Linked DNA regions of Homo sapiens: all the other regions are linked to region 5. Evidence: promoter capture Hi-C in 16 types of primary human blood cells and fetal thymus (Javierre and others, 2016). All regions are on one chromosome and are shown on one strand. Each heading gives the region's core, a stretch centred on a gene start or on the middle of the fragment in contact. The rest is flanking DNA. Distances are from core to core; before and after follow the strand shown. Region 1 overlaps OSMR-DT (OSMR divergent transcript). Region 2 overlaps OSMR-DT (OSMR divergent transcript). Region 3 overlaps OSMR-DT (OSMR divergent transcript). Region 4 has its middle 40 kb from the start of LINC01265. Region 5 holds the start of EGFLAM-AS2 (EGFLAM antisense RNA 2). Region 6 overlaps OSMR (oncostatin M receptor).

Evidence for each region. The method cuts DNA at HindIII sites, captures the fragments that hold promoters and counts their contacts. A CHiCAGO score of 5 or more calls a contact.
Region 1: a contact is called between a fragment that was not itself captured here and the fragment with the promoter of EGFLAM-AS2 in region 5, in 4 of 17 cell types (M1 macrophages, erythroblasts, M0 macrophages and 1 more). The highest score is 8.1, in M1 macrophages.
Region 2: a fragment that was not itself captured here is called in contact with the fragment with the promoter of EGFLAM-AS2 in region 5 in 5 of 17 cell types (M1 macrophages, M2 macrophages, M0 macrophages and 2 more); the score reaches 10.9 in M1 macrophages.
Region 3: a contact is called between a fragment that was not itself captured here and the fragment with the promoter of EGFLAM-AS2 in region 5, in 10 of 17 cell types (M1 macrophages, M0 macrophages, M2 macrophages and 7 more). The highest score is 14.5, in M1 macrophages.
Region 4: a fragment that was not itself captured here is called in contact with the fragment with the promoter of EGFLAM-AS2 in region 5 in 1 of 17 cell types (endothelial precursors); the score reaches 5.2 in endothelial precursors.
Region 6: a fragment that was not itself captured here is called in contact with the fragment with the promoter of EGFLAM-AS2 in region 5 in 1 of 17 cell types (M0 macrophages); the score reaches 6.2 in M0 macrophages.

What each region holds. Positions count from the first base shown.
Region 1 is chr5:38,785,303-38,788,650 of GRCh38, forward strand. All of the region lies in intron 2 of OSMR-DT (OSMR divergent transcript), which reads right to left. All of the region lies in intron 1 of LOC107986414 (a long non-coding RNA gene), which reads left to right. Among named protein-coding and RNA genes, the nearest start is that of OSMR-DT, 59 kb to the right of the region's middle. The HindIII fragment of the contact is 3,625 bases long and covers 51-3,348 here.
Region 2 is chr5:38,828,573-38,832,044 of GRCh38, forward strand. The region is part of intron 1 of OSMR-DT (OSMR divergent transcript); the gene reads right to left. Among named protein-coding and RNA genes, the nearest start is that of OSMR-DT, 16 kb to the right of the region's middle. RefSeq lists an enhancer at 1,374-2,573. The HindIII fragment of the contact is 6,043 bases long and covers 1-3,472 here.
Region 3 is chr5:38,801,470-38,805,236 of GRCh38, forward strand. All of the region lies in intron 1 of OSMR-DT (OSMR divergent transcript), which reads right to left. Among named protein-coding and RNA genes, the nearest start is that of OSMR-DT, 42 kb to the right of the region's middle. The HindIII fragment of the contact is 979 bases long and covers 1,853-2,831 here.
Region 4 is chr5:38,678,389-38,682,118 of GRCh38, forward strand. No RefSeq gene overlaps it. Among named protein-coding and RNA genes, the nearest start is that of LINC01265, 40 kb to the right of the region's middle. The HindIII fragment of the contact is 814 bases long and covers 1,829-2,642 here.
Region 5 is chr5:38,401,854-38,405,598 of GRCh38, forward strand. It overlaps EGFLAM-AS2 (EGFLAM antisense RNA 2), which reads right to left and starts at 1,618. Exons shown (of 3, transcript NR_102750.1): 1 at 1,546-1,618; 2 at 1-228. The region is part of intron 6 of EGFLAM (EGF like, fibronectin type III and laminin G domains); the gene reads left to right. The HindIII fragment of the contact is 8,755 bases long and covers 1-3,745 here.
Region 6 is chr5:38,846,580-38,850,042 of GRCh38, forward strand. The region is part of intron 1 of OSMR (oncostatin M receptor); the gene reads left to right. Among named protein-coding and RNA genes, the nearest start is that of OSMR, 2.3 kb to the left of the region's middle. The HindIII fragment of the contact is 2,378 bases long and covers 752-3,129 here.

The DNA.
Region 1 (3,348 bases), core at 613-3,112, 380 kb after region 5:
TATGTACAGGAAGATCCATTAGGGAAATGTGAGACACAGGATTTGTAAGAAGCTTTGAATAATAGACTTCCTCCTATAGGCAATGGGAATAATTGAGTGTTTGAGTCATTCATTGATTAATTCAACTACCATTGATGGAGTACCTTACATGTCTCAGATCCTTTGCTAGGCTTTGGACACGTTTTTAAAAAAGCAAAAATGTGTCCCTGCCTTCAATGCACTTATGTTCTAGTAGAAAAACATTTTGTAAACAAATAATTGGTCAAAAGTGGTATAATAGAGGTATACCTTTGATATGGTTTGGCTGTGTCCCCACCCAAATCTCATCTTGTAGCTCCCATAATTCCCACAAGTCGTGGGAGGGACCTGGTGGGGGATTATTGAATCATGGGGTTGGGTCTTTCCCATGCTGTTCTTGGGATAGTGAATAAGATCTGATGGTTTTATAAAGGTTTTCTGATGGTTTTCTTCACCTTCTACCATGATTGTGAGGCTTCCCCAGCCATATGGAACTTGAGGCCATTAAACCTCTTTCCTTTATAAATTACCATGTCTCAGGTATGTCTCTATTAGTAGCATGAGAACAGACTAATACAGTTAATTGGCACCAGGTAGTGGGGTGCTTCTGTAAAGATATCCAAAAATGTGAAAGTGGATTTGGAACTTGGTAACAGGCAGAGGTTGGAACAGTTTGGAGGGCTCAGAAGACAGAGAGATGTGGGAAAGTTTGGAACCTCCTAGTGACTTGTTGAATGACTTTGACCAAAATGCTAATAGTGATATGGACAATAAAGTCCAGGCTGAGGTGGTCTCACAAGAAGATGAGGAACTTTTTGGGAACTAGAGCAAAGGTGACTCTTGCTGTTATTTAGCAAAGAGACTGGTGGTATTCTAACCCTGCCCTAGAGATTTGTGGAACTTTGAACTTGAGGGAGATGATTTAGGGCAACTGGTGGAAGAAATTTCTAAGCAGCAAAGCATTCAAGAGGTGACTTGTGTGCTGTTAAAAGCATTCAGTTTTATGTATTCACCAAGATATGGTTTGGAATTGGAACTTATGTTTAAAAGGGAAGCAGAGCATAAAAGTTCAGAAAATTTGCAGCCTGACAATACTATAGAAAAGAATAACCCATTTTCTGTGGAGAAATTCAAGCAGGCTGCAGAAATTTGCAAAAGTAACAAGGAGCCAAATGTTACTTACCAAGACAATGGGGAAAATGTCTCCAGGGCGTCAAAGACCTTCACAGCAGCCCCTCTCATTACAGGCCCAGAGGCCTAGGAGGAAAAAAATGGTTTCATAGGCCAGGCCCAAGGCCCTCCTACTCTTGCAGCCTAGGGATTTGAGGCCCTGCCTCCCAGGTGCTCCAGCTGTGGCAAAAAGGGGCCAAGATACAGCTCAAGCCATGACTTCAAGCCATGACTTCAGAGGGTGCAAGACCCAAGCCTTGGCAGCTTCCACATGGTGTTGAGCTTGTGAGTGTGCAGAAGTCAAGAATTGAGGTTTGGGAACCCTTGCCTAGATTTCAGAGGATGCATGGAAATGCCTGGATGTCCAGGCATAAGTTGGCTGCAGGGGTGGAACCCTCACGGAGAACCTCTGTAGGGCAGTGTGGAAGGGAAATGTGGGGTAGGAGCCTCCACAGTGAGTCCCCACTGGGGCACTGCCTAGTGGAGCTGTGAGAAGAGGGCCTTCATCCTCCAGACCCAAGAATGGTAGATCCACCAACAGCTTGCACTGCGTGCCTGAAAATGCCACAGAGGCTCAATGCCAGCCCATGAAAGCAGCTGGGAGGGAGGCTATACCCTGAAAATCCATCAGGGTCAGAGCTGCCCAAGACCGTGGGAACCCACCTCTTGCATCAGCGTGACCCGGATGTGAGACATGGAGTCAAATGAGATCATTTTGGAGCTTTAAGATTTGACTGCTGTGTTGGATTTTGGACTTGCATGGGGCCTGTAGCCCCTTTGTTTTGGCCAGTTTCTCCCATATGGAATGGGTGTATTTACCCAATGCATGCATCCCCATTTATCTAGGAAGTAACTAACTTGCTTTCGATTTTACAGGCTCACAGACAGAAGGCACTTGCCTTGTCTCAGATTATACTTTGGACTGTGGACTTTTGAGTTAATGTTGAAATGGGTTAAGACTTTGGGGGATTGTTGGGAAGGCATGATTGGTTTTGAAACGTGAGGACATGAAATTTGGGAGGGGCCAGGTGTGGAATGATATGGTTTGGCTGTGCCCCACCCAAATCTCATCTTGAATTGTAGCTCCCATAATTCCCACCTATTGTGGGAGGGACCCAGTGAGAGGTAATTGAATCATGGCAGTGGGTCTTTCCTGTGCTGTTCTCATGACAGTGAATAAGTCTCATGAGATCTGATTATTTTATAAAGAGGAGTTCCCCTACACAAGCTCTCTCTTGCCTGCTGCCATGTAAGATGTCCCTTTGCTCTTCTTTCATCTTCCACCATTATTGTGAGGCCTCCCAGCCATGTGGAACTGTGACTCCATTAAACCTGTTTCCTTTATAAATTACCCAGTCTTAGGAATGTCTTAATAGCAGCATGAGAACAGGCTAATACAACCCTTAAGCTGAAGATAAGAATGATGAATAAATATTAAAGTCTAGTTAGTTGAGTTGTTTATCACTGTTGTATGGATCAGCAATTATGAAACTGCTTTCAGTATATTCTAGGATTAAACAGGTAAATATATTTAGGATAACAGGGCCAGATTTCTCACTGTCAAAGAACAGTATGTTGAATTAGAACTGGAAGTATCAGTATAAATTCATGATTTATATCGATACATATTTATCTATTTTATAGATGGTTGAGTTTTCTTTTTTTTTTTTTTTTTCTTGAGACAGGGTTTCGCTCTTGTTGCCCAGTCTGGAGTGCAATGGCTCAATCTCAGCTCACTGCAACCTCCAACTCCTAGGTTCAAGCGATTCTCCAGCCTCAGCCTCCCAAGTAGCTGGGATTACAGGCATGGGCCACCATGCCCAGCTAATTTTGTATTTTTAGTAGAGACGGGGTTTCTCCATGTTAGTCAGGCTGGTCTTGAACTCCCGACCTCAAATGATCTGCCTGCCTTGGCCTCCCAAAGTGCTGGAATTACAGGCATGAGCCACTGCAACTGGCTGATGCTTGGGTTTTCTAACTAAAGCAAAGGACCAATAGATATTATTTTACTTCTATATCTATATATCAACAGGTATATAGACATGTTATATCTACATCCACATGGATATAGATGTATGCATAGAGGTGTATACACATATGTCTATTTCTTACGTCCCTGAGAAGGCCTCATAGCAATTACAGTTCAGTAGCAATGAGCAC
Region 2 (3,472 bases), core at 233-2,732, 430 kb after region 5:
CACCAAAACAGGAGCTGCTTCATTGGTAGAAAGATGAGAAGGTAGAGACAATGAGTCCTAGAATACTCTTTACAGAGGTTGGTTGAGGAAGGAAGAGGAAGGATGTGGTTACCATCCATGAGACCTTGTGTGATAGTGAATCGTTCCTCAGTAAAGGATTGATAAACTCTGCCGTGGATAGACTAGAAAAGTTTCAATCTTTCTCCTTTGTGTCATTAAAAAAAAAAAAATCCTCTCCCTGTTCTCTAAGCTAACAGGTCTTCTTCTTGGGTCTCGCAAATCATCTTGTGAGTGAACAGAAGTGACTCTCAGATTTTCTTTGTATCTTCTTGTTGTGGAATTATCCTCACCCACAGCACAGGAAAGTTCCCTGAAGTGGCTGTCTCTGTGCTCCACTTTTCTTTTTGCCTCGTGCAACCTGTATCCCATTACCCCCAGGGAAAGCTGTCTCTCTTATTCATCTTCTTTGTCCTAAAATTCACATTAATTTTTACATCATACTCACAGTCCTCAACCCCCAGAGTTCCCTAAGTCAAACCATTGTTGGCTTCATGACTTTGGTAGATACTGCCAATAATCTCCCAATATCCATCTTCCCTTCTATTTTTTTTGGTAAAAGAATCCCCAAGTTTTACACGAGCCCAGCTAGAGACTAATTTCTTGTCTTCTTAAGCAGCTAGATGTGACCATGTGATTCTGTCTGAACCAAAGGGACTCTCACTTGTGCCTTAGGTGATGGCTGGCTGAAGAAATCTTGGGAGCCATATATTGAGCATGATAAAGCTGTCCTACCGACCCAGGCCACTTATTCTGGACTGTTAAATGGGAGGGAGATAAATTTAGATTTTAGGTAAGCCACAGTGTTGTTGTTTTTTTTTTTTTCTTTACTTGAAGGGGATCAGGATACGCTACCCCAAAATATGCCACTTTAACGTAAGGTTTATTTTGACCCAAAGGCAACTGAAAATCAACAGATGTAGAAGAGTTCTCCACCCTCCCTTTATCTGCCTAGAAGTTGGGCATGAGTTTCCCTTTGTTATGGTGTCTATCTCCTGTATCAGGAAAAGGAGAGCAACTTATATCACCAGAGATGGAGAGTTGGCACCAAGATAAATCTGCATAACAGACCTTAGGAAAAGAACCTTTATCTTCTGTTAGTTTCCCCCATATATTTCCTAGTTACTTCCCCATGATTTATCATCCCTTGAAGTTCAAATTTTCCTTTATTAAAATTATATGTAAACTAGAAGTCTAACTACTTCTTTGAGTTTCACTTCTTTTCTGTGAACTCTTGTGCATATAAATATTAGCAAAAATTGCACGCTTTTTCTCTCATTAATCTATCTTTTGTTAGTTTAATTCACAGGCCCCCAGATACTGAACCTAAGAGGACAGAGGAAAAGTTGTTTCTCCCTGAAAGACTATACCCTAAATAATACAAGGGTCACAAGGCATATTGCTCTCCTTTATAACAATGGCTGTGTGGTCCAGCTGCCACACAATATCCAAGACTGGTTCCACAATGACAACTGCATCTTTCAGGAACAGCTTCCATAACTTGTTCTCTGCCTATTAGAAGTCTCCTCTGACTAGAACAACATCGAAAGATGTTTCTCTTCTATATCTCATGACATCTGGAGAATTTGGGGCAAGAATGAACAGCACCTTGTAGGATGCTCTTGGAAACTTTGTCTTCTTGGAAACAATATACATATTCCCCATGATCTTTTGGCCTTGGAGTCAGCCAGCTTGCAACAAATTCAAGCTCTACCTACCACTCAACAGCAATGCTACTGAGCTTTTCTCTGTCTCAGTTATAAAATGGGGTAATAATTGTACTTGTCTTCAAAAGTTGCTATGGCAATATTTTTAGGTGAAATTTTATGCAAGTTTACATTATTATAATTATACAGTTAAATTATCCTGCTTTTGCAAATGTTAGGACAAAACATGACCATGTAAACCAATCCTTGAGCCTCTCTCTGGGTCTATGGAAAAGTCTGTGTCATTAGCTTCACAGTAAATCCACTCTGACTACCTCACAGGGGAATTAGAGGATGACACAACATACAGTCAGGGCCACTGGCACAAAGGTAACTTTGTGCTTATTACACAAGGGTGACCCCTCCAGATTGACACAGGGCTCAGGGCCAGCAAAGCAAGGGCTAGATTTTAGCTCTCACTATTTTTCTTGGTTGGGGGCCTTTGGCATTGGCAAAACTGGAGGTTGCTGATATAGCTGGGGGTTGGTGCACTCCACCAAGGTCCTTGGCCAGCAGGGCGGAGGTGAGCAGGAACCACATTCAAGTCCCCTTTTCTTGCCAAGTTGTGTGTCTCGACATGCAGCTGCATATACCCAAGAATAGGGCATGTTTGGCTTCACACGAAATCTCTGTCTTTCTGCTAAACCCTGCACCTACTTTTCTCTAATGTGTGCAGAGGTGCCTTAGAGCTTGTGGGTGGGCCAGCACATTGCACCAGTATAGGTAGCAGCCCTGATCCCTGGCACGCAATAAGCACTTTACAAACCTAAACGTTCCTTTGTGTCCCTATCCCACCCCCCATTCTTTCCTACCTATATAATGTTTTCCTTACTTGCTCAACCTTGTATAACTCGAGGTCATTAAAAAAGTTAGTTTGCATATTTTCAAGGAAGCAATTGGAAACCTAAGTTGCTCCAGGGAATTGCCTTACCAGTGTGTCCCTGTGCTTCCAGGGGATTCCACATAAGATAACATCTTTGGGGATTTTGCCAGATTCCTTGTCTGTATGCATTGGGGCACCGTGACAAAAATCCTTCGCTTGGCCAAACTTTAGTCAGAGTCCTGAACCCTCTCGTAGGCTCATATGTGTATTTCCTCGTAAAATCTAGTTTTAGCAAGAACTCTGTTAAGTCAGTTTAGCAAGACCACCCCCTACCCCACCCACCCTCAATATCTGATCAGGTTCTTTATCATTCACCATCTCCCAGGTGATGTCTTATCACCCTGGCCTGTCTTCAGCAAGAGTCTTGTGAGGTTGCCTTACACAGAATCCCCCTTACTCCTCAGGTTTCCCTTAGCACTTTTCCATCCACTGACCACCACCCTGCTCCTTGGCTATACATTTCTACTTGCCCATGCTGTATTTGGAGTTGCAATCCCATTGCTGTGGTCCCTATACCTATGGGATGGTCCGAATAAAGTCTTTCTTAACAGGCTTTATTAATTATCCATGAACAATTTTTTCTTTAACTAGCAGGGAAGGAATTTTCAGTTGTACCACTCTGGGAATGCCCAGAGCTCATCTTAGGCAAAGTCAAGCTAGAGGGCTGTGCCTGGCCAGTCTCAGGTGGTGGTGGTAGGATCAGGTAGCCAAGCATCAAAGTCCTCTGATGTCAGTCTTGCCTTTTGCACCGTGGTGGGAAGACGTGAAGCAAATTCCTCAAGTGGCCAGTTCTCTAAAAAGCAGCCACTAGAGGGCTCTATAGGGG
Region 3 (3,767 bases), core at 1,092-3,591, 400 kb after region 5:
AAGATGACACAGTTAATGTGCAGTAGATCTGGGACTCAAGCACAGGCCTTCTGACACAGAGCCCATGGAACCAGATGGGACCCATCTCAGAAGCTCTGGCCTGTGAAGCATCCTGGTGTCTGTCACCTGCCACCCACAAATTTGAGGGCAGAAATTTCTCTAACATCTCACCACCAGCACCACAGCCTCCACCTCCTCTAGCACGATGATTCAAACCCATGCTGGTCATTTTTATAAAATATAGATTTTTGTTTGGCTTCAACCCCCCACTCTAAGAGATCAACTATTCCCTTTCTCTCCCTTTTCTCACTTAAAAATTGTTAGCACAGCATACAGCAAAGCGTTGTTCTCACCACCCCAGTCTTCCAGAGAACAGTTATTTTGCTCTCAAAAGTCTTCATCAAACAAATTTGAATTTCCTTTCCCTTTCTAAGGCCAAAGTCCTTATTATGGATGTATTAATTATCTACTGTTGTGTAGCAATATTACCAGAAGTTTACTAGCTTAAAACAGCACACATTTATTATCTCACAGTTTCCATGGGTCAGGGATCCTCTACCTAGGATCTCATAAGGCCGCAATCAAGGTGTTAGTTGGGGTGGCAGTCTTAACTGTAAAAGAACCCAGTTCTGAGCTCTTTCAGGTTGCTGGCAGCATTCAGTTCCTTGCAGTTACAGGACTGAGGGCTTCCATTTCTTGTTGGCTGTTGGTCAGAGACAGACTCTCAGCTCCTTGCCACACCGTCCTCTCTATGGGCAGCTCACGATGCTGCAGCTTTCTTCTTCAAAGGCAGCAGAAGAGGGGGGCTCCTCATGAGGTAGGAGTATAAATTGTGGTCACCTACATATAATTACTTTTGCTGTATTCTGTTGATTAGAAGTAAGCCACAGGGCCCACCCACACTCAAGGGAAGGGATAAGGGCACGAATATCCCAGTGCGAAGATCATGAGGCCACCTTAGAGACTGTCCTTCACAATAGGTTATGGATGCCTTTCTGCCACTCCTTCTGAATGTTTTCTCTTTTTTTTCTATCTCCACTCTCCCCAGTTCTCAGTCTTCGCCCAGGTTGCCCCCAGGTTTGGAATGCAAAGGAAAGTGAAATTTATTCCATCCCCAGCCCTTACTCTAAGGATGGGGAAAGCCATTTGGGTGGAAACCCTTCATTGTCAGTGAGGGTAATACAATATGACAATGTAACCCAGAGCAAGGAGAAGCCGAGTCCCTCTCAAAAGGTTTACAGCACTAAAAACAGGCTTCAATACTACTAAAGGGTTTCAGCCCTGGTTTGCATGAAATAGAGCCAAATGTATGCAAATAGAAGGAATATGAGTTTTTCATGCAAATCAAATGGGTATATTTAGAAGGAAATTAATCCTTGTTATATGAGGTGACTTTAAATTTGGAGATTCAGAGAGAGAACTAGTCACAGGTCAGAGTAAAAGTCCCTTCACTCTTTCCCACTGGTCAAAGCTGAGTCCTATATGTATACCACCCCCTCTCCAAGCCAGTGGTCTCAGAGGCCAGAGTAATAGACATGGGCCAAGGAGAAAGACCACTGGAGATGATGACTGAGGTTTCAAGACACTAGAAAGAACCCAATGGTGTAGGACTTGATTATTTTTCTATGCAGTGGTGGGCTTTATCTTAGCAAGAGAAGTAGAGGAAGAACGATGAGATAATACAGATGATCCTGGATTTATAGTGGGGTTACATCCCGATAAACCCATTATGAAGTTGAAAATATCATGAGTCAAAATGCATTTGATACACCTAACCTATTGAACATTATAGCTTAGTCTCATTTATGTTAAACGTGCTCAGAACACTTACATTAGTCTAGAGTTGGGCAAAAGCTTCTGACACAAAGCCTATTTTACAATGAAGTGTCAAATATCTCATGTAACTTACTGAATACGGTACACAGCAGAGCATTGGTTGTTTACTCTTGCGATCACGTGGCTGACTGGGAGCTGCAGTTCACTGGCACCACCCAGCATCGAAAGAGAGTATCCTATTGCCTTCTACTGAATATGTATCACTTTCATACCCTCTTAAGGTCCAAAGATTGTAAGTGAAACCATCATAAGTCAGGGACTATCTATATATCAGAATTGGTTTCAGCTGTAAGAAACAGAAAATTCCTGAGTGAGAGTGACTGAAATAAGAAAGATTACGTCTCTCTCATGTTCAAGAGGTCTAGAGGCAGCCAGAGCTGGGCTGGTAAATAATCTACGGGGCGAAGAGTCTTCTCTAACTTTATGCCACATACACTTTTCATTTCCAAGGTAACTTCATGGTCCAAGTGGCTGCTGGAGCCCAAGTTATTACATCTGTCTCCCAGTCAGTAAGAAGGAAAAGGAGAGAAGAAAAACACCTACTCTTCCACTTAAGGATACGCTGTGGAAGCTGCACACACATTTCTGCTAATATTCCATTGCCCAAAAAGGAGTCACAGAGCCGCACCTAGCTCCAAGAGAGGTTGAGAACTGTTGTCTTTATTGGGGGTAGCTAAGCATCCGGATAATCATCAGGTACTTAAAAATGGGGGAAATGTCTACAGGTGGATGACAGTCTCCAACTAAGGTATGGTGGACATAAAGACGCACCACCCAGCTTCCACATGCAGGAAGGCCCCATTGCCTCACCTGTCAGGGGTGCAGGTGGTGGACAGCCTTCACCTCCAGCCCTTCAGGTCAGTCTTAGCTGCAGAGAGATGCCTGACCCAAGGGCTTGCTGTCCCGCAGGCAGCCCACACTTAATGGCTGATTGAGGTTGGCACATTGGGGCCTGCCTTTCAGCCCAGCATGGAACAGGTCTGGCAGGCCATGTAAGCTTCAGAGCTCCCCTTGCAGTTGGCTGAGGTTGCTATTGGTCACTTCGAAGTTCTACTTCTCCTTCAACCCAATCCTACTCTGCTCCATCCTTTTCCCAGATGTTGATCCCAAGGGCACTGCCTGATAAACATCCTGTACTCTTAACTCTGTCTCAGAGTCTGCTTCCCAGGGAACCCCACCTGCAATAACAGAGGGGATGAAGACTTAAGGGAAACAACTGTAGGATGTAAAGAGAGAAGAGAAGAGTGAGGAAATAGGGAAGTTCACAAAAGACTGGAGTAGTCAGAGTTCTCCAGAGAAACAGACCTATTGGATGGGGATCTACCGATGGGATGGAGATACTTGTACATATATAAAGAGAATTACTATAAGGAATTGGTTCACACAGTTATGCAGGCTGTTATAGTGTGGACTGGTAGGCTAGGGACCCAGGAGGGCTGATGGTGCAGATGAGGTCCAAAGGCGGTCTGCAGGAGGATTCACCCCTGCTCGGGGAGGCTGGTCTTTTTGTTCTATTCAGGCCTTCAATTGGCTAAGACCCACCCTCATTATGGAGGGCAATCTGCTATTAATGTTCATCAAATTAAATGTTAAATTCATCCAAAAATACTCTCCAAGTTGACACATAAAACTAACCATCACAGTCACCTTTCCAATGCCCAGGAAGGTCTCTCTCCCATAATCTCCCTTCCCTTCCCTGCCCCATACATATGCACGTGCACACACACACACACACACACACACACACCCCTAGGTGTAGAGGTTTGCACTTATGGCAGTAAAATAGAGCAAGCTGGCTGGTTTCATCACCCCTCCCATGCTCTGTAATGCTATTAGACTTTACAGAATCCTTGGGAAAAGAGCCTTTTTAGGCACTGCAATATTAACTTCAGGAAAGGTAAGAGAGGCTGGGATCCAACCAAAATTTAAGA
Region 4 (3,730 bases), core at 986-3,485, 280 kb after region 5:
ATTTTATACATATTTTTTATTTCAATAGCCTTCGGGGGTACACATGGGTTTTGGTAACATGGATGAATTGTATAGTGATGAAGCCTCAGACTTTAGTGCACTCCTCAACTGAATACTGTACATTGTACCCAATATGTAGTGTTTTTTGTTTGTTTGTTTGTTTTTAGACCGAGTCTCGTTCTGTCACCAGGCTGGAGTGTAGTGGTGCCATCTCGGCTTACTGCAACCTCCGACTCTCTGGTTCAAGCAATTCTCCTGCCTCAGCCTCCTGAGTAGCTGCGATTACAGGCATGCGCCACCATGCCCAGCTAATTTTTGTATTTGTAGTAGAGACGTAGTTTCACCATGTTGGCCAAGATGGTTTTGATCTCCTGACCTCGCGATCCACCTGCCTTGGCCTCCCAAAGTGCTGAGATTATAGGCATGAGCCACCGCGCCCAGCCCAATAAGTAGTTTTTTTATTCCTAGCCCTCTTTCCACCCTCCCTCTTTCTGAGTGACCAGTGTCCATTCAGCACTGTCTTTCTAATCACAATTCTTCCTGTGAACTCTGACTTCTGTTGGCTATCTGTTTTAGCCCTTTCAACAGAAATGAAAATACAGAAAGATGTTCAATTGGTGGGAGAATTGCCTGAGCCTGGGAGGTGGAGGTTGCAATGAGCCGAGATCACGCCACTGCACTCCAGCCTGGGTGACACAGTGAGATCCTGTCTTAAAAAAAAAAAAAAAAAAAAAAGATGTTCAATCTTTTTAGGGTGACAGAGCAAATCTGTAACTCTACTTACAGTCAAATACCAGGTACTGATGTCCCAAAATTTCTTCTTGGAAAGAAGGAACCATTTTATTTTCATTGGCACCAATCATAGGATGTTTTCTTCACTATTTAATTTTGAATAACACAGTTCTTTTCAGGGAAGACACATTATCCTGAAACACCCTGAATTAATGCTAGATTTGAATGTCTATAAGTAGGATTTGTGAACTTTGATAAATATTTAATCATTCTTTCATTTGGGTGAATGGCCTTACATTTTCAAGAATGGGTGTTAATGTGAGTGAGCCTTTTAAATATCACTTTTTTGAAGTATTACAGTAAGTGATTGCATAGTAAACATTCAGAATATGCAACTTCAGGAAGAATGAGAGAAAACTGTCCTAATACTATGCTGTGGCTTGGGATAAAATTGAGATATGATGGAGGAAAAATATGTCAATTACCAGATATCTTTATGTGAAATATAAGATAATATATAAAATGGGACTGGGCATGGGGGCTCATGCCTGTAATGCCAGCACTTTGGGAGGCCAAGGTGGGTAGTTCTCTCGAGCCCAGGAGTTTGAGACCAGTCTGGGCAACATGGTGAGACTCCATCTCAACAAAAAAATATACAAATTAGCTGAGCATGGTGGTGTGCACCTATAGTCCCAGCTATGTGGGAGGCTAAGGTGGGAGGATCACTTGAGCCTGGGGTGGCTGAGGCTACTGTGAGCCATGATCATGTCTCACATGATCATGGCAGTGGCACTTTAGCCTGGGTGACAGAGTGAGACCCTGTCTCAAAAAAATAAAAAGTTAATATGCTTATATAAAACGATATTAACACATCAATTTTATAAGTATATATAAAATGATTTATAATATGTGTATAACTAAATTAATACATTAACTATTTTTAAGCAGATGATTCATGATTTTTAGCTATGTTCCTAGAATTTTTGGTGACGGGAAGGGGAGCATTTACTTGGGCAATGGGAGTGTCTCATATTTGACATTGCCTTATATTAGGGCATATACTGTAGATGCATAAACAATGGTTGAATCCTAACCAAGCTTGGGGTGGGGGGAGGAAGAACAATGAAGACATTCACAACAAATTATTTTCTTTTCTCTGTGTTATCAAGAAAATGTGTTTACCAGTCTTTATCTTGATTCCAGATCCACAGCAAATGATGACTCTTCTCTATGTATGACGATGATGGTTTGTGAACCAAACTCTGGATCATATAAAAATGAGTGTTTGAAATACTACTTCAAAAGTAGCCACTTCTGAAGATTCTATACATTTATTCAGAGAATGACAGTCATGGGCCAAACTGCTTGGGAACGCCTCTTGGAGGACTGCCTTCAAATCATCACTTCACAGGCTGGACGACAGGGCCAGGCTCCACACTTTATAGACAGTCTTTTTGTTTTCTTTTTTTTTTTTAACCCCAAATGGTTATACTCATGCCATTGACCAGCTTGGCCTCTGGATGACTTTTGGCTCTTTCCAGAAATCATTAAATTCACTGTCTTCCACTGACTCCCATCCCCCATCCCACCCCAAAGGAAGAAGACTTGGCACAGAGTAGGACTTTCAGAAAAATGCTCTGCAGGCTCTGAAGACAATTCTGCGAGAGGAGTTCCAAATGTTTAGAGGAAAAACAAGACAACTAGAGTCAGTATATGACCTCCCAACGAGAATGTGCTGAAAAGAGACAAAATTCCTTAGGGTTTCTAAGTTCTAGAAGATTACTTTTTAAATATCATTTTATGTTCCTATGCCACATTTAAAATGTACAAACCTTGCATGCCATACCAGGTAGCCAGATTGAGCAAATATCTTCACGTGTTTTCTACTTCAATCAAAATAGAAAACCTTAAGCTTTTTTGCTTTTGAGACTAAGCCTATAAACAAAAGTACAATTTATAAACCTGCTATGCACATTGGCAGGAACCTATGACATAAAATGAATATTTAAACTTGGGTTATTTGGCAAAATGGTGGTACCATCCTCCCAGTAACAATGCTAAACATCAGAACACAAGCAAGCTCATGATGCAATCAGCACAGGGGTGCGGGATCATTATCTTCAGTTGTTCACTTGCAGAGGGACTGAAAGCTCAAGTTATATAGACTTGCCTCATCTGTAGGCCTGGTGAATACATCTTCCATTTTACATTTTGGCTCCAGGATATGACATTCTCTCCATATATCATCTGCTGGTTTTCTTCTTTGTTGGACAGTTATTTTGTTAGGAATTCATAACTCTTTATGTTTTGACACAAGCTCCCAGCACATAAGCTATTCCCTGATTGGAAATGAAGCTGTTTAGAAACTTGTTTTAACTCTTTCAATTCATTAGGGTGTTATTTAGTAAGTTCACTGAAGCAGTAATTTCCCAAGTAGAATTAGCTGGCCCTTTATATGTTGTCAAATAGCCAACTTTCGAGCTGGAACAATCCAACAAATGCAGTTATAACGCAACCAAAACCAGTTAAGAAATAAGTGACTTTGGGGATTTAAAAAGAGAAAGTGAGTCCAGGGAAATTTGCTAATTCTTTTGGAAAGAACTTAAAAATTAGGGAATGAAGGAAAACAAATTGGACTTCACATATTTGGATTTCAGAACAACATTTGATTTAGAATAGTAATTCTATGGTTAGATTAATTCAAGCCATATTAATTATTTGAAGATTGTAATGCATGATTCTAATATGATGCTCATTCGATTCACATTTCCCATTACCTCTGAAGAGTACATATCTCCAAACGGAGTTATTTGGAATAAGTCTTTTACTGTGCACAAGTTTAGAAAAAATTTCCAGGAATTTATCCCAAAGGAAAACCCAATAGAAACAAAAACAATTTGTATTTGCCCACACTAGTGCATTTCTCTGCCTTCTGCCAGACATTTTTTAGATATTCTCAAATCAAGTTCTCATTTCTGCCTCTGGCATCTCACTGCAA
Region 5 (3,745 bases), core at 368-2,867:
AATGGGCATTTATGCTGATTGGAGGCATATATCCATGGCTGGGTTGCCCCATCCAGGAGAAGATGAAGGAATGTCCTACAAGTCTTGGTGGCTTCTTACTTTGTGGAGTCACCATTTTTCCCAGAAGAGTCTGTTTTCTTTTTAAAATGTCGCTTGATTTTGGTCTTCTGATGGCACACATTCAGCTCTGTCTCCATAGAATGCATGCCCTCTGGGAGAATAGGTAGGCTGTGTGTAAGGAGATAGGAGTGGGAAAAAGATGACAATGGGAAAAAGCATTAACCAAAATCCTAGGGTAAGAAAATACAAGATGCATTCAGGAGACAACTGGCAGGCCAGTTTGGCTATTATATAGCTTTTAAAGAGTATTTTTTAAAAAACAACAAAAACCTGAAAACATAATTAGGATTCAGATTAAGTAGCATGATGTAGTCAAAAGAGAGACCAAGGATAAAATCTAGCCCTGCCATTCCCCATCTGTCTGCCTTGAGCAAGTTATTTAATCTCTCTGTGTCTATATCTCCACTTGGTAAAATGGAAGTAATAACACCAATTTTATAGTATTTTGTGAGGATTAACTTAAGCGATGTATGAAAAGCTCCTGGCACACTAAGAATGATCAACATATGGTAATTTTCTCAAATTCTAGGATCTTTCTACCTCCACAGTGGCTTCTTCTGCAATAGGCGATTAGGAGAGCAGTCACCAGACAGACCTTGGATTTGAGTTTAGCTCAGCCAGTTATAAAGTCTTCAATTTTAGGTAAATTACTTAACTACTCTTAACTCAGTTTTCTTATGTATAAAATGGATTAGTCATACTTACCTTGTAAGATTATTGAAAAGTTTAGAAATATATCATGTTAAGCACCCAATAGTACCTGATAAGAAGAGGAGATGGAGTAGAATTCAATAAATCATGGTGATGGGGGAAGAAGGAGGAAAAAAGGAGCTGTTTTAATTGAGAACCTTGAATTCTTGACCAAGAAGCCTAGAATTTATGTTGTAGGCAGTGGAGAGTCACTGAAGGTGATTTTTCAGATAGGAAATCATAGGATAAAGATGAAGAGAATCTTAACCTTGTTGAGAATGTGTTAATAAGGTGCACAGGGCAAGGAAGAACAGCCTGGAAGGAGAGAGACCAAACTACTGAAGACAAAAGCCAGCTTGCTTTATGTATGTGCTGTATAATTCTTTTACTACCAAATGGATTTCTTCTTCTGGAATCTAACAATTCTGAATATGTGAGAGAGGCAGAGATAGAAATGAAGAGTGAGGGAAAGGACAGAGGGGAGAAAGAGAAAGAGAGAGAGGGGCCGAGAGAGATAGATACAGTAGTTCCCTCTCCGCAGGGGATGTGTTCCAAGATTCCCAGTGGATACCTGAAACTGCAGATAATACTGAACCCTATATATGCAGCAGAACTAGCATAAATTTCATTTTCCTTCTTCACAGTTTCACAGATAGAAGATTCATTCTTGCCATAGATCTTAGCAACCTCAGCATATGATTTTTTTCTTTCCTTAATTCAGTTGAGAACTTTCACCTTTTAATTTAAAAGATGCACTTCATGGCTTCTCTTTGGCATATCTGAATCCCAGAATCACTGCTCTTGCACTGTGGGGCCATTATGAAGTCAGATAATGGTTACTGGAACATAAGCACTTCGATACCATGACAGTGAATCTGACAACTGAGACGGCTGCAGACCATGGGGCAGGGAGCATATGGAGCACGGATATGCCAGACAGAGGGATGATTCATATCCCAGGCAGGATGGAGCAGGGCAGTGTGCTATTTCATCGTGCTACTCAGAACTTATGAATTGTTTATTTCTGGAATTTCCCATTTAATATTTTTGGACTGTGGTTGATCGAGGGTAAATGAAATTGCAGAAAGCAAAAATACAGATAAGGGGGACTGCTTGCTGTACAAAGATAGAGACAAGAGGAAGGAGCTGTCCTCAAGGGCCTTTTGTGTGAAGACATCTGGCACACAGATACGCTGCATGCAGGTGGCTTGAGAGAACATGCATCCAGGTATAAATCTGGCATCGACAGGTTGAATTTTCAGTTGACAGGTGGACTACTTTAAATAAAACTGGGGAATTGGTGTGGAAGGGATGAGAACACCGCCTCCCCTTTGTTATCCCACCTCCACCAAGAAGTGCCCGAACCCCTGAGAACAGCTCACTCCACCCTGTCTCTGGGTCATCTGCATCATCTGCTGACTGCACTTCTCTCGTCTGGTCTGGGAGGAGATTGATTTCTGGTCAACAGCACGCCCCCTGACAAAAATGACTTTCTGCCATTTCCTTCCACTCCATTTTCAATCTGATTGCTATTCTGTTTGGAGGAGTGCTATGGTCGGAATGTTTATGTCTCCCTCAAATTCATATGTTGAAATCCTAACCCCCAAGGAGGGGCCTTTGGGAGGTACTTAGATCATAAGGGTGGAGTCCTTGTGAATGGGATCAGTGCCCTTATTAAAGAGGCCCAAAGGGGCTGGTTTGCCCTTTCCACCATGTGAAGATGCAGTGAGAAGGCACCATCTGTGCCCTCATCAGATACTGCCAGCCCTTTGATCTGGGACTTCACAGCCTGCAGAACTGTGAAAAATAAATGTTTGTGGTTTACAAGCCATCAGTTTATGGTACTTTTGTTGTAGCAGCCTGGACAGACAATGTAGGAGGGTGAGTTTGTCTTCCTGAGAATGGTGCATGACTTAGCTTATTCTGAAAGCAAAATGTCTTTAAGTTTAGTTTATGTTTTTTATGCTTTTTATGTTATTTTTCCTTTTTCTTTTCCACTAGGCATCCAAACACTGGATGTCTAATAACTAATGAGTGGCAGCATCCTACCAAAGCCAGTTTCTGTTGCCAAAGTTGTTACTGCCCTAAAGGCTGGTGCCTGGCTTTTTCAGTTGAGAGAGGGCAGCAAGTTAATACCTGTGCTGGCCCAAATCCACTGTGAGGACATGCAGGTGCCCTGGAGCCGCTCTTTAAAAGGCTGCCACCTCCTGGTGGAGTGTTTCCCATGTGCAACCTAAATCAGAGCGCTGTGGATCAGTGGATTCTGCGGATGACAGTTGAATAAAAATGCCAACTGAATGTTCCCCAAAAGATGATGCTCTGTATTGACGTCTGAGAGGTTTTCTCACCCACCTTTCAGTTCTGAAAGATTTAGTTGTCCTGCTAAGATGGATGAAATGGATGACCCCCAAGATACCTTATAGGGCCCCCTTTTTTTGGTTGTGGGAGTGTTTACTATAATCTCCCTTTTTTGTTTTAAAGACCTTTTAGTGAAATACTTTGTACTTCAAAAGTATATATATGTATATATACAACATATAAAAAATATGAATATTTACAGGTACCCAGCACTTACCTTAAGAAACAGAATATGATGGAATACTCTCAAAGGCCCCTGTGAATCACACCTCATTCACATCCCTTTTCTATCTTCCCTTGGGTATTTATGTGTTTGTCCTGCTTTTTTAAAGAGTTTAAATTACATATATATGTATCCCTAAGTAATATATTGTTTTGTTTGCTGTTGTCTTTTATATTAATGTCATCAAACTAGATGCATTCTTTTGCAACTTGCATTTTTTTTGTATGAAGTCATGTGAGATTAAGCCATGTTGATATATTAAATGATGATTCATTCCTTTCCCCTACTATATGGTACTCCATTCTATAGATATACTATAAATAATTTAGTCATTCTTTGTTGATGGACATTTGG
Region 6 (3,463 bases), core at 691-3,190, 450 kb after region 5:
CCCCTACCTCTCCTCTCGTAACCCTTGACTCCCACCTGAGAGAGCCATTTTTCTGGGAATCCGTGTATCTCTCCCACCTGGTCCCTAGCGTAGAAGCGGGAGGAGCTCAAGCACAGGTGGAGAGAGGAATCCCCGGGCGACTCTGCAATAGCGTCCGTCCGGGGCGCTTACCTTCTTCTCCAGCCACTTGAGTGGAAGTGGCCCTCTACATTCTGGAAACCTAGGCACGGAGGGGTTCAGTAACTTGTCCAAGGCCATATGGCTAGCTGTGAGGGCACTGAAATCCGAGCCCGGCTCTCGCAGGCCAGGGCTTTACCCCTGACACCGCGATTCCTTTCTCGATAGTTCTTCATCTGCCCTTCATCCACCTACCCATGCATGCCTGCATCCGTCCATCCATCCTGCCTGCCTTGCTGCGGGAGGCACAGTGCTAGGTGCTGCTGATGGAGTGGCTTGGTAACAGACCTGCCTTGAAAACACTTTGGGAACAAGATATTCAAGAGAAGTAAATGGAAGGGTCTATGAAGGCAGAGAAGATAGAATTGAATGTAGGATACTTAGTTTGAGCTAGAAGGAATTCTGATGGAGGAGAAAGAAATTTTTAGGTTTTATTCCCAAGATTAAAACTGACTTTGGAACATGGGTCAAACTACTTATCACCTCTTAGTTTCCTTGTCTGCAAATAATAATGGTTCATACTTACTGTGAACCAGCCCCTATTCTAAGCACTTGACATATGCTAGCTCATTTAAGCTTCACGGGTGAGGCGGGTACTAGTTTTTTATTATATTTTATTGAGGAAACTGAGGCCCAAAGAGGTTTTGTAACTTTTCTAGGGTTACACAGCTAGCAGGTGACAGTATCAGGATTTGGGTTTGGAGTCTGCTCATGATCACCGTGCTGTAGCTCAAACTCTAAGACTGGGTGGGGTGTTTCATTATGGTCTTGCTTTGTCTCTCTCCTGGGCTGCTTTAAAATGCACTCAGAGCCCTTGATGTCCCCAAACTCCGCTGTGTCTGAGAATCATTTCTTGAGCTTTCAAAGCATCAAACTCCAAACACAGCCTTCTATTCAGAATCTTCAGGAAATACTCAGTTTGTTTTCCCCGTAGCATTTGTTCAGTGCCTCCAGTGGCAGGAAGCTCACCACCTCACATTTTATTGTAGGAAGAGCTAGTTCTCTGCTGTAAATTGCCTCCTTGTGACTTACATCTTGGTCCCAGTTCCCGTTTGTCCCAGCAGGTGTGGCTAAGCCTTTTGTATCAAAGGTGGCTTTGAGAGAAAAAGGCTGGTCTTGGGTGTTTCTTCCGCAGGGACCCGAGCCGCATTGGGGAGAACACATAAACACTGGTTCTTTCCCCCTCTACCCTTTTCTTTAACCTGAACAGACCAGGAACACATGCAGAGGTGTTCCTGGATCTCTCATGTTTTTGTAACCCTTTTGTCCTGAGGACAAAACCGAATCAGGAGAACTGTTACGGTTTTCAAAGGGGAATCAGTGGTACTGTATTTAACAAGAAGAAGGTGTGTATTTTCCTTGTGGGAAAGGACTGGGGCATTCATTGGCTGCAGTAGAAGAGAATCTTAGTGAGTGTGGTCTTGCTCACTTACAGGAACTGTGAGCCTTGGCCCTCCTTTCGCTGGGGGAGAAAATCCTTCTTGATTGCTTAAAAAATGTGTAAAATGGGGGGAAAAAAACCCAAACCAAAACAAATAGAATATCATGGCCTTGCTGGAGAAATCCCCTCCTCCAAGCAGGCTTCTTTGTAGCTACATGAAGAGAGAATTTCTTTTCCAACAGCTGTGTTGGTGGCTTCATAGCCTTCCTTCCCTCCTCATTTTAGTTGTACTGGTCGCTCTGCATTTGTGCACTCCACGTTGTATTCTATTTTTGTGTTTTAAAAATAATACAAATAATAACAACTCATTCTCACTCAATATAGAAGTGAAGTGAAATGTAGACGTGCCATCACCATCCTCCCTCCTCCCACTCAGAAGAGGGAAGGTTAAGTTTGATAATACCATTCTAAGGCTTGTTTTTCTTTTCTATAGTTTTACATAATACATACATATACATATGTTTTAAATATGCAAATTATCTTACTATACTTATTGTACAGCTTGCTTTTTCACTTTCCAAGTCTTAGAGATCTTTCCATTGTCTCTAGATACCTCTTTTGTTAATGGCTACGTGTTATTCTTTTTGTGTGTGTGTGAGATGGTCTCACTCTGTCACACAGGCAGAAGTGCAGTGTCATGATCATGGCTCACTGCAGCCTCGACCTTCTGGGCTCAAGTGATCCTCCCACCTCAGCCTCCTGAGAAGCTGGAACTACAGGCACATGACACCACACCTGACTTTTTTTTTTTTGTATTTTTTGTAAAGATTGGGTCTCTCCATGATGCCCAGACTGGTCTTGAACTCCTGGGTTCAAGCAGTCCACCTGCCTTGGCCTCCCACAGTGCTAGGATTACAGGCGTGAGCCACTGCGCCCGGCCAGCTACATGTTATCCTAAAGTAGAAATAGAATGTAATTTATCCATCCTTTCCTATATTGATGGACATTCAGCATTAGCAACGTTGCTTCAGAGCAGATCACACATTCATCTTCCTGCTCAAGTGTGAGTATTTCTGTGGAAGAGAATCTGAGGAGAGGTATTCCTGTGTCAAAGGGTTTGCCCCTTTTTCCACTTGATAGATACGAAGTGGAAGGTAACGATGTAACTTAATATTTTTGTAAAGTTTTAGACAGCTGATCCAATAGCATTTATTTAATAATTCATCTTTTTTCCAACTCATTTGAAATTCTGTTTTTATCATTAAATAAATTCCTGTTTGTAAAAGGGTCTGTGTCAGGATTCTATTCTGTTTCATTGATCTTTTTTTTTGTTTGTTTTTCCCTAAACCAATATTACTCTGAGTTAACTACTGTAGCTTTATAGTGTTTTTGAAAATCTTGTGGTATATATTTGTGCTTTTTAAAACAACTTTTTTTATAAATCACATACATTTTCTCTTTACAAATAGCCTGTCAAGTTTAATAAAATCCTATTTTTAATTAAGATTTTATTGAGTTTATAATTGTTAGCAATTTTTAATGCTTTAATGTCCACTTTGGTATGAGCTCCAAGCTTTAAGGAAACTGTGTCATGTGAACTTTGGTTAATGACTTATCTGATTTCAAATATTGGCTACACATCAGATTAACTGGGTCAGTTTGGATAAATTACTTGTCAACTTTCTTATCCTTAATTTCCTCCTCTGTGAATGGGAATAATAATATAATCCTTTTCTTAGCGCTGTTGTGAGGATTCAATTAATAAATGCATGTACGTCACTTAGCAAAGCACCTTGTAGAGAGTTAGTATCTTATACATGCTAGCTGGGATCTTTTTCATATTTATATCCTACTCATGGTTTTGCAGAGTGCCCTATTGGTAATAGGAACCAGTAAATATTTCCT